Linked DNA regions of Homo sapiens: region 2 is linked to region 1. The links are contacts of gene promoters, found by promoter capture Hi-C in human tissues and cell types (Jung and others, 2019). All regions are on one chromosome and are shown on one strand. Each heading gives the region's core, a stretch centred on a gene start or on the middle of the fragment in contact. The rest is flanking DNA. Distances are from core to core; before and after follow the strand shown. Region 1 holds the start of NTN3 (netrin 3). Region 2 holds the start of DNASE1L2 (deoxyribonuclease 1 like 2).

Region 1 (4,973 bases), core at 145-2,644:
GGATGGGTCAGGGGCAGGCTGGTTGTGTCCAAGGTCCCCAGGCCACCCTCCAAGGCCTCACCGAGGCAGGCGTGGGATTCCCGGGCAGTGGCCCGCTGCCATGGCCTGTCGCAGTAGAAGGGCTTGCAGCGGCCGCAGTCAGGGCCCTCGGTGCCATGCCGACAGTCGCAGATCAGGTGGCCCTGTGTGTCCAGCAGGCACCGTGAGGCATGTCCATTGCACTTGCAGCGCCCGCCCACCTGGAGGTCGGTGGCTGCGTAGGAGTAAGGGACGACGGCCTCCATGTCCCTGGGGTCACCTGCCGTGCTAGGCCTTGTGAGCACTACACGGACGTCGGTGGCGGTCACCCAGTCTTGGAGCACTGGGCTGCTGTCCAGGTCCAGGCCTGGGGGGCTGCTGTCCTGCATGCTGAAGGCCAGAAGGCCGCTGCCATCAGGCTGGGCCAGGGGTGCGGGGAAGCACAGGGCCTCAGGCCCTGGGCCAGCTGGGCCATTGGCAGGGGCAGGCAGACGGCCATAGTCCAGGTCACAGTGGGAGGAGAAGAAGCCCAGCGGGGCCCAGCTGCGGCCATGGTCCTGAGACTTGAGCAGGGCCACGGAGGCTGGGGGAGCTGAGCAGAAGCGCAGGCTCACGAAGACCAGCTCAAAAGCCTTGCCCAGGGGCACCGTGAGAGTCACGTTGAGGGGCGCCCGAGGCAGGGACTCCGAGCGCCAGCACAGAGGGCTGGCCGTGCCCCCTGGGGAAGTAAGGAGGGCGGGGGAGTGTGCCCGTCGCGGGTCGGAGGCGTCGCAGGCCCGAGTGGCCGGCCGCCCGCACGTGCTGGAAGCCAGCACCTCGCGGCCCAGGGCGGCGTTCACCAGTCCTGGCACGCAGCCGCGGGGCGCACCCCCCTCATCGTGGCAGGGGTCGGCGGGCGCCGGCGGCCCAGGACTCAGGGCGGCGAAGAGCGTGCCTGCCGTCAGCAGCAGCCCCCAGGGCCAGCCAGGCATGGCCGGAGCCGCTGCGGGTCAGCCAGTGGCCGGGCCCCAAGACGCTGCCCTTGGGGAAAAGAAGCCCTCTCCGCGGCTCTGCCCACCAGGCCCGCAATGCCGAGGAACAGGGCCCCCGGGCGGCCCCAGCCCGGCCCAGAGGTGGGAGCAGCGGCGGGCACGCCCCGGGCCCAGCACAGCAGCGGGGATGTTGGCGCGTCCTCCCGCTGGGCCTAGAGCGATGACAGGCGTCGCCCCCGCTCCCGGTGCCTCCGCCCGCGGAGGCCCCACCCGCCGCTCGCACTCACCCACCGAGGGCCGGGCGGAGCAGGTCTCCCGGCCTCCCGGGAAGGGCCGTGGGCGGGCGGGGCCTGCGGTGCACGGGCCGCCGCCTCCTCCCGGCTGCAGCGAGGGCGGACGAGCTGTGCCAGGAGGGGGTGGGGGGCGCAGCAGGCGCAAGCCCGGGCCCAGCCGGGGGCGGGGCTGCTCGGGTCGGGAAGGAGGCAGGGGAGGGGAGGGGGCCTCATCGCAGAGCTGGAATCAGAAGCAGATTCAGACGCGGGCTGGGCCAGCGGGGAAGGGGGCTGGGAGGCCCGGGAGCCAGGGGAGGGGCCGGGGAGCCAGGAATGCGCTGGCGGGAGGGGTCTGGAGGGGGGCAGCTCAGCCTTCGCAGCCCGTGGGGGACCACCCAGCAGGGTCCTGGGCCCACAGCCAGGTCTTTACTGCTCCTGGGGCTGTGCCACGTGCTGGACGGGGGTCTGGGTCGCCTCCTCCCTGAAGACCATCAGGCAGGCAAGGCCCCGGGTCTGACAGCAGAGGCCCTGGATGTTCCCCAGGTAGGGAAGCCAAGTAACCACCAGTTGAAGGGTCATCCCCAAAGCAGCATCTACTCGAGTAGAAGGAACCCAGGATTCGGTCAGGTCTAATTTTGAATCCAACTGCCCCATTTCTGGCTGCATGTCTTGGGCTCCTGTTTCCTCACCTGCCAGATGCCTGTTACTCAGCACGCGCTCTGAAGCTGTTGGATTTGATGAGTCTCAAGTGGCATCAGGCCCAAGTCGAGAGCTGCACAAATTGGAGTGTCTCCTGCCCATGTTGAGGAAGGGGGGCACCCCCATGGGCCTGAGCTGGGCTAAGACATGAGGCCAGCATCCCCTGCACCAGGCCAGATTCTGATCCCAAAGCTCCCTGGGTCTGCAAGTTTCTAGGGGCACCTCTGCCACGGGCCCAGCTGGCAGGGAGGACATGGAAGCTGGAGGGTGGGATGGGGTGGCTTCTTGGGGTTCGGGGGCTTGGTTAGCTGTTGAGGACCCCTCTGCAGGGGCAGGGAGTAGGGTTTAATCATGGGAAGGGGCTGGTCGCAACCCGGAGCCCACTGCCCTACGTCACAGCACGTTTGGGCAGGGAAACTGAGGCAGAAGCCCAGCTGGGTGGCCTGGGGACTAGCTGGGGATGGGGTAGCTGTGCCTGGGAGCGACACCACCAAAGAGGGTCCAGGAACAGCTCTGGTCAGAGAAACCTCCTCCCCTCCGACTTTCAGGTCCTTGACAGAGGAGGCCAAGCATCCCAGGGAGGGGCAGGGAACAAGTTCCGTGCAGGGCCAGCATCGAGGCCTGAATGCCCCGTTTCAGATGGGAGGCCAGGCCTGCAGCTGGTGGAGGAGGCCACGTGGGTGCTACCCTGGACACGACCAGAGATGAGCAAGGACCAGGAGGAAGAGAATGGAGAGGTAGACGCATCCCGCTGTTGGGGAGAGGAGGGGCAGGAGGACACGGAAGCCTCCTAGGGGAAACTGAAGGACCAGAGGAGGGAGCAGGAGGGCCTGACCATGGAGGGGAGGAACGGGAAGACAGGGTGATAGGGCACCTGGCTTGGCTCCTGGAGCAACTGACACTGGCTGGTGGGCACCTTCTCCTTGCCACACATCTGCATGTGACAGCCACAGATGCACAGGGATGGGGGCACCGGAGGACTGAACAGAGAGGGCTAAGGGGCTCTCTCTCTGCCACAGGGCCCCTGCCCCTCAGCTTCCTGATAAAGAGAATGGGAATTGTGTCCTTTACAAGTTGAGGGACCTCAACCTGACGGGGCTCACGCTCCGCTCTGTGGGTCAAGCTTAGAACCTGAAACGTCCCAACCACCCTCTTCAAGGTCCTTCTGGCTCCCAACCCCCACCCCCCGACACCCCACCCTAAGGGTGGGAGGAACCCTGGGGGGACTATGGGGGCTGAGATCATCATTCTGGGACAGTGGAGAGAAAAGCCCAGGCCTGACAGAGGGGTCCCACTGGCCAGAGACAAGCCTCTGGGGAAACCCAAGCTGTCTCTGGACGTCAGGGCCACTGCCAGACTGGCTGCCAGCCAGGCTGCAAGAGGGACAGTGGCCAGCAGCCTCTTCCACCCTCATCAGAGGGGCTGGCTTTGTCTCCAGCTCAGCTTCCCTGTGAGCCAGGACTGGGGTCTGCAGAACGTCTGGTGGCTTCTGGGGTGGGGGAAAGTAGGTGCCTGGGGCTCAGCCCTGCCCCAATTGTTCATCTGGGTCAGCAGCAGCGGCGGGAGGCCGTGGGCCCAGAGGGCCATTGTACCGCCAGCTCCCCAGGGAGGAGGCCGCTGGTCACAGGGCCTCTCCCCAGGAACAGTCCTCTGCACACGCTACTCTGCCCCCACCCCCAGCCCTCACAGATGGTGTTTGGGAGTTAGGAAGGGCCTCCCCACAGCGCCCAAGCGGGACTTATTGCTCCCCAGGGACCCAGCCACCTGTCCCAGCCCCTGGCTGGGGCCTCTCCCACCTCCCACCTCTCCACTGGCCCTGCCCCCTCCTGGCACCTTCTGCAACAAAGAAGCTCCGCCTCCCCTCCCCCCACCTGCAACTCAGGCCGCAGTGCTTCGCCTCCCCCTCCCCACCCCACCCCTCACCCCTAGAGTGGCAGCTCCAGCTTTGGGGCACAGGCTGGGGAGAGGGCATAGATGGGCTGGACAGTCCTAGGCGGCAGGGAGCTGAGAGTCTTTCCTGTAAGATGCCCGTTGATCCAATAATTCCCTGCCCAGCCCAGAACCTGCTGTCTCCCCCCAGACGCCTGCAAGCCACCACATGTTCACCTATTGCACATTTATCGAGCGCCTATTATGCCTCGGGGGGTTTCCAACCGAGCTCCGAAGGCAGACAGCCCAGGAGCAGACACAGCGCCGGCTCCCAACGGCGGGTGGTGTGGCCGAGCCCGCGTCGCGCTGCCCTGCACCCAGCACCCTCGCGCCGGGTCGATCCCCCAGCCTCGCAGACCGCTGCCCAGCCAGGCCGCTCTGCGGTCGCGCCAGCTCTGCGCGCCAAGTCAAAAGCTGAAATGCGACGTTGGACGGAGGAGGGAAGAGAGGGAAAGCAGAGAGGGAGGGAGGGAAACGGCCGGTGGCCTTCTCTGCCCAAAGGGTTCCAGAAGAAACGATTTGGGGATGGGGTGTGGGGGGCGGCCTCTGCGACCACGCTTGGCACTGCGCCCGCCCGGCCGGGGCGAGGTTGGAGGGAGGGGCGGCCGGCTCGCGGTGACCTCGATGGGAGGGGGCCTCGCCCGCGGCTCAGGGCGCCCCCGGCTCCCTGCGCCCGGCCCTTCGCCTCCGCCGAGCGCGCCAGCACAGGAAGGCGGCGGTCAGAAGCCCCAGGCCCGCACTGAGCGCGGCCAGCGACGAGCCCTGGGCCAGGTCCAGGCGGGGTCCCCGCAGCGAGAAGGTGATGGCCGTGGCAGCCGCACCAGCCAGCACGGCCACGGCACCGAACGGCAGAATGCAGCGAGGCCACGAGCCCCCAGCGCCGCCGGTGGCCAAGAGCAGGGCGCGCAGGGCCCCGGGGGGTTCCGGGTGCGCCAGACCCGGCCCGGGGGGCGAGGCGGGCGCCGCTGGGGGAGGCTCGAGCGCGCTCATGCCGCCAACGCGGTGGCCGCGCTCGGTGGGTGGTGTGGACGCCCGCGCAGTCCCAGTGGCGTTCCAGGCTCGCCACGTCAGAGCCCATTGGCTC
Region 2 (4,932 bases), core at 14-2,513, 230 kb after region 1:
TGAACCAGACCCCCGGGGCGCGCCTGCAGGGACCCCGGGACCGAGGGGTGGGCTTACGTCGGTGCCCCACTTGTCGATCACGTCCAGGTACACGTCGTAGAGCGCGTCGATCTCCGCCACGGCTTGATGCGGCGCCGCGTGCAGCGGGATCAGCACCAGGTTCTGTGCTGCTGCGGGAAGGGGTGGGGGCGTCAGAGCTCGGCGGGAGGGGAGGGGCGGGGCCCGCTCACCGGTGCCGGGGGCCGAGAACTTGACCACGAAGGGCTCGCGGCTGAAGACGTCCTCGGGGTCTGGGTACAGGTAGGTGTCCACGACCGACACCGCGTCTTTCCTAGGAGATGGGGAGGACCCGCTGAGCCCCCGACCTGCGGCCCCGCGCGCCCCTCCCTGCGGCCCGCCCCTCACCTGTACACGAACAGGTACATCTCCTTGTACTGGTCCCGGCCCAGGGGCTGGCTGCTCACAAAGCTGTACTCGTGCTCGGACACGCTGCGGAGACAGGGGCCCGCTCAGGGTCGGGGCGCCGCGCCGGGGCGAGATCCCGGCGGGGGGTCGCGACGAGGGGCCCTGCCCACCACACCTGTTGATCTGCTCCATGAGCGCGGACACGGCGCTGAGGTCTGGGTCTCGCACCTCCTGCACCAGCGCGAGGTCATAGCCAGCCAGGATCTGGGGAGGAGCGGCGGGTGCGGGGGTCAGCGCGGTCAGCACCCCTAAACGCCGCCCCGCCCCGGCCCGGGCCCCACCTTCGCGATGATGCTGCCGCAAGCGGGGTCCGACACTTTGCTGTCACCGAAGCTCTGAATGTTGAAGGCTCCGATGCGAAGCGCGGCGGTCCCGGCGGCTTCCAGCGCCCAGAGTGCGGCCAGCAGAGCCCGGGGCCCGCCCATGGCGCGGAGCGAGAGGCTGGGAGGGACAGACGCTGCCGCCTACGCAGACCCGCTGTCAGACCCACCGACCCACCCCTTCCCTCCGCGGCCGCCCCTTGACGGCCAGTGCGACGCGGAATCCGCCCCTGCGTTCTGCAGGCTCCCAGGGCACTGCTGGGCTCTCAGGGACCGCTGCCTTCTCACTGCGCGGGAAGCTGCAGCCGGAATGGAGGGTCCGGCCCATCCAGCCCCAGCTCAGGGCAGCCGAGAGACTCACCTTGGATGTGGGTGCAGAGGCCCGAGGCTCAGAGATCCTAGGGGGATGGGGATCCCGGGTCCAGGCTGCGGGCGTGTCCGACACAGGACTGCACTGACTCCCTCTGGCAGTAGCTCTGGCACCAAGGCAGGGGCCGGTATTTGAGGTCCTGGGCCAGGGAGGGGCCGGGCTGCACTGGGTCCCGCCCCCTCGACTCAGCTGGGTGCCTGATGAACTCCTGGCTTTCATTCCCATGGAGACCCCCAGGGTAAGGGGTGGGAGACCTGCCTGAGCCGGTTCTGGTGCCCCAGACCTGTCCCAAAACCGTCCCAGAAGCCCCTGCCAGCCCCCTAGGAGGGAGGTAGACGGTCAGCCACATCCCGGTGCGGCTGTGTTCTTGTCCTCGCCCCTAGAAATTAGGTCGCCTAGACTCTGCCTCCCTGAGCAGAATCCCTTCAGGGAAAGCAAGGCAGCGCAGGTAGGACCAGCCACACTCCCTACCCAGCATCTCCTGCTGCTGCTCCACCTGCTCACCCTGCGGTGGAGGCCGAGGCTCCCAGATCTCCCTGTCCCCGTCCCTGGTCCTCCCACCCACCCACAGGCCTCAGGCAGCGCAGCTGGGGGCACAGCTCCAGCTGGGCAGGGCAGGAGGCTGTTGGTCAACATGCCAATGACACCCACACAGCACCAAGGCGCCGCCAGGGCTGGCAGAAGCCCCTGGGTGGGGCGGCCAGGCACGTGAGTCTAGGAGTGGCCTGGGAGGCAGGTGCTGCTGCGGGGGCCTGGGCAAAGGTGGTGGCACCAGCCGCGGAGGCTGCCACTGCCACAACATCACAAGCTGCAGGTTCTCATGTTTTATTGTAAAGCAACAAGAAACTCTTATGTACACTGTCCGTCTTGGGGCGCCTCCATCCTGTGCCATCTTCTCTACCAGGCCAGGCAGGCATGGGTGGGGCGCTCAGAGTCCTCTGCCCTGTCCCTGCCCGGCCAGGACCCCGCAGACCTCATGCTAGACGATGACCGTCTGCACCTCCAGCTGGCCCTCCGGCGAGGCGATGACCAGCTCGCCTGCATGCTCCAGGATCTCGATGTCCTCTGATGACACCATGGTCACAGTGGCCTGTTCAGTGCCACTTGTCCCTGCCCGGGCGGCAAGCACAGTGCCCTCGCTGATGGCCGAGGCCAGCGTCATGGCCACCTGCTCTGTCAGGCTCTCGGGGGTGGCGATGGTGATGGTGTCGGCGGCAGCCGCCTCTGGGCCCAGCGCCGTCTCCTCGTCCATGGTGACGTTCTGCACGATGATCTGGTGGCCGGCGCTAGCCTGGTGCACGATCTGCTGCACCACCTTCATGATGTGGCTGTCCACCTGCAGGGCCACGGCTCAGCAAGAGCGGCTGTGCCAGGGAGCCTCCCCGCCCCCGCCTGCCCTACCCCTCACCTCTGTCTGGGTGCCCTCGATGATCTCCGTGGCCTCACTGGTCTCCGCATCGTCCGCAGTGGCCTGGGCAGATGGGCAGAAGGACAGAGGTCAGCCTTGGCTGCCCCTGGGTCCCAGCACGGCCCCAGGGCCCCACACCCACCTCGATGATATACTCCTGGGTGTCAGCTACCACGGACGAGAACTCCACCAACACTGTGTGCGGGTCTTCCGTGAGGACGGTGGTGGCTGCCGCGGGGCTGTCCTCAGACACCAGCAACTCCTCCACCTCCAGCAGGCAGCCCCCTGTGGGTGGGGACTCGGTCAGGGCTAGGCAAGCCCCGGCCCCCTCCCCTCCCCCTCCCACCTCCACCGGCCCAGACCTTTGGTGCGCAGGTGCCGGTTCAGCGTGCCGTGCTCGGCGAAGCCACGGCCGCACTTGTAGCACTTGAACGGCTTCTCGCCTGTGTGGTGTCGCACGTGCCGCACCAGTGAGCCCTTCTCTCGGAAGCCACGGCTGCAGAACTGGCACACGTGCGGCTTCTCCTCCAGGTGTGTCCTGAAGTGCACCTGCTGTGCGTTCTGTGGAGACACCTGTCAGTGCCAGCCTGGCCTTGGCCACAACAGACTACAGCTCTCCCCTCCCGCCTGTGGCCCAAGGGAGGGGCTGGGTCAAGACTGAGCATGGTGGAGGCAGGGAAGGGGGTGCACCTGGGCCACGGCCAGGGAGCAGGATGGGGGGATCAGGCGCCAGGGTCCTGCGGCCAGAGACCCACCTTAGTCTTGTAGCGCTTGCCACACTTGGGACAAGGGTAGGGCCGCTCGTCTGAGTGGACGCGCCGGTGGCCACGCACATGGGCAATGGTCTTGTAGAGCTTCCCGCAGTCGCCACAGCGGAAGCGGCGCTCACGCACGTGCACCTCCTGGTGCTTCTTGAGCAGGTAGGCCTTGGGGAAGGCCTTGCCACACTGCGCGCAGGCGAACGGCCTCGGCCCTGCAGCCACACACAGCATCAGGCCAAGCCCATCACCCGCGGGCCCGCCAGGCCGCCTGCCACCTGCCCACAGATCCCCTGGCTCCCTGCTGTCTATGGACCCACCCTGGACACCCAGAAGCACCCCGGCCACCTATAGCCCATCCACTGCCATGGGCCACACACCCACCCATCACCTACCGGTGTGGCCCCTCTTGTGGGCCTCCAGGGTGGCTGCTGTCGGGAAGGTCTCACTGCACTGAGGACATGGGTGGGTCCTGGGCACCGCTGAGGCCTCGCTGGCCACCTGCTGGGGAACCACAGGAAGGTCTCCAGCACCCGGGGCAGGCTGTGCCCTGGCAGTACCAAGAACACAACCATGGGCCCCACCCTGGCAGGCTCCCTTGTGGCCCCAGGGAAGGCAGTAAACAGATCAATGGACAAAGTCACTGCAGAAAGCCACTTCAGGGAGGCGAAGGCCAGCGTGGGGACAGCCCCTGGGATCCAGCCCTGGGAGGAGCCCGCAGGTGGTGCTGGCACCTACTGTCTCCAGCGGCTGCACTTCCAGTACCGGCAGCTGCGGGGCTGCCACTGCCAGGGGCTGGGGACTGGACCCGGCAGCAGGAGCTGGCTCCAGGGCACCCTCCTCCCCAGCAGCGCGCTCAAGGACGATGCCGGAGTTCTGCATGGCCTGGTGCAGCAGGTTCTCACGGCTGCCCTCGCTGGAGCAGGGGAGCTCCTGGGAGACGGGGGGCTGCAGGGGAGGCAGAGAGAGGAGGCTGGCCAGGCAGCCTGGCATCCAGCACCCACCCCATGGGGCAGACGCACGCCAGGAGCCTTGTGCAAACCCTCAGACCCCCATGGCGCTCCCACTGGCCCTGCTCTCCCTGTGGGAAGCCCAGCCCTCGCCTGCCTGGCTCAGACCCCTGGAGCCAGTGCCCAGAACAAAGACTGGCACCGAGCAGGCAGAAGACAGAGCAGCCCTCCGGGGCCCCCCGTCGCCCCCACCTCTGGGGCCAGGGCTTTCATGCCCAGGGACAGCTCCTGCATCTGGACGTGGACTTCGTGGATGACGGTGCCCTTGGCATCTGTCACCAGGTGAATCACGGGTGAAGTCTCTATAGGCTCGCCTGTCACCGATGATGTGGCTGTCCCCAAGCCGGCAGCTCCAGCTCCAGAACCTTCAAGGTGGAGTGAGGGAGTGAAGATCCCTCACACACCCCAGTGGCGGCTGCGTCCACAGCCAGCCCCCAGGACCAGGCAGCTGCCCGCACCATGCTGACCTGCACGTGCGTCCTCTTTGCTGACAACCACGTCCTTGCTCACACTGAAGCGGATTTTCTCTGTGCAGGGGGTGAGAGACTTGAGGTGCCGGGTCAGTGCACCCGACTCCCGGAAGCTCTTTCCACACTTGGAG

The links. The method cuts DNA at HindIII sites, captures the fragments that hold promoters and counts their contacts. A contact is called where the count stands out against the background at its distance.
Region 2: the fragment with the promoter of DNASE1L2 here is called in contact with the fragment with the promoter of NTN3 in region 1 in 1 of the 25 tissues and cell types used here (lymphoblastoid cells).

Annotation. Positions count from the first base shown.
Region 1 is chr16:2,467,718-2,472,690 of GRCh38, reverse strand. It overlaps NTN3 (netrin 3), which reads right to left and starts at 1,394. Exons shown (of 6, transcript NM_006181.3): 1 at 62-1,394. The coding sequence starts at 989. It overlaps TEDC2-AS1 (TEDC2 antisense RNA 1), which reads left to right and starts at 4,478. Exons shown (of 1, transcript NR_135198.1): 1 at 4,478-4,973. RefSeq lists silencers at 1,117-1,256, 4,520-4,569, 4,580-4,919 and enhancers at 3,190-3,269, 3,430-3,569, 3,529-4,072. The HindIII fragment of the contact is 12,116 bases long and covers 1-4,973 here.
Region 2 is chr16:2,232,775-2,237,706 of GRCh38, reverse strand. DNASE1L2 (deoxyribonuclease 1 like 2) reads right to left here and starts at 1,263. Exons shown (of 7, transcript NM_001374.3): 1 at 1,147-1,263; 2 at 747-929; 3 at 581-669; 4 at 406-489; 5 at 58-331. The coding sequence starts at 890. E4F1 (E4F transcription factor 1) reads right to left here. Exons shown (of 14, transcript NM_004424.5): 6 at 4,799-4,932; 7 at 4,524-4,696; 8 at 4,060-4,269; 9 at 3,717-3,825; 10 at 3,319-3,536; 11 at 2,926-3,124; 12 at 2,706-2,848; 13 at 2,564-2,626; 14 at 1,965-2,491. The coding sequence ends at 2,135. The HindIII fragment of the contact is 25,906 bases long and covers 1-4,932 here.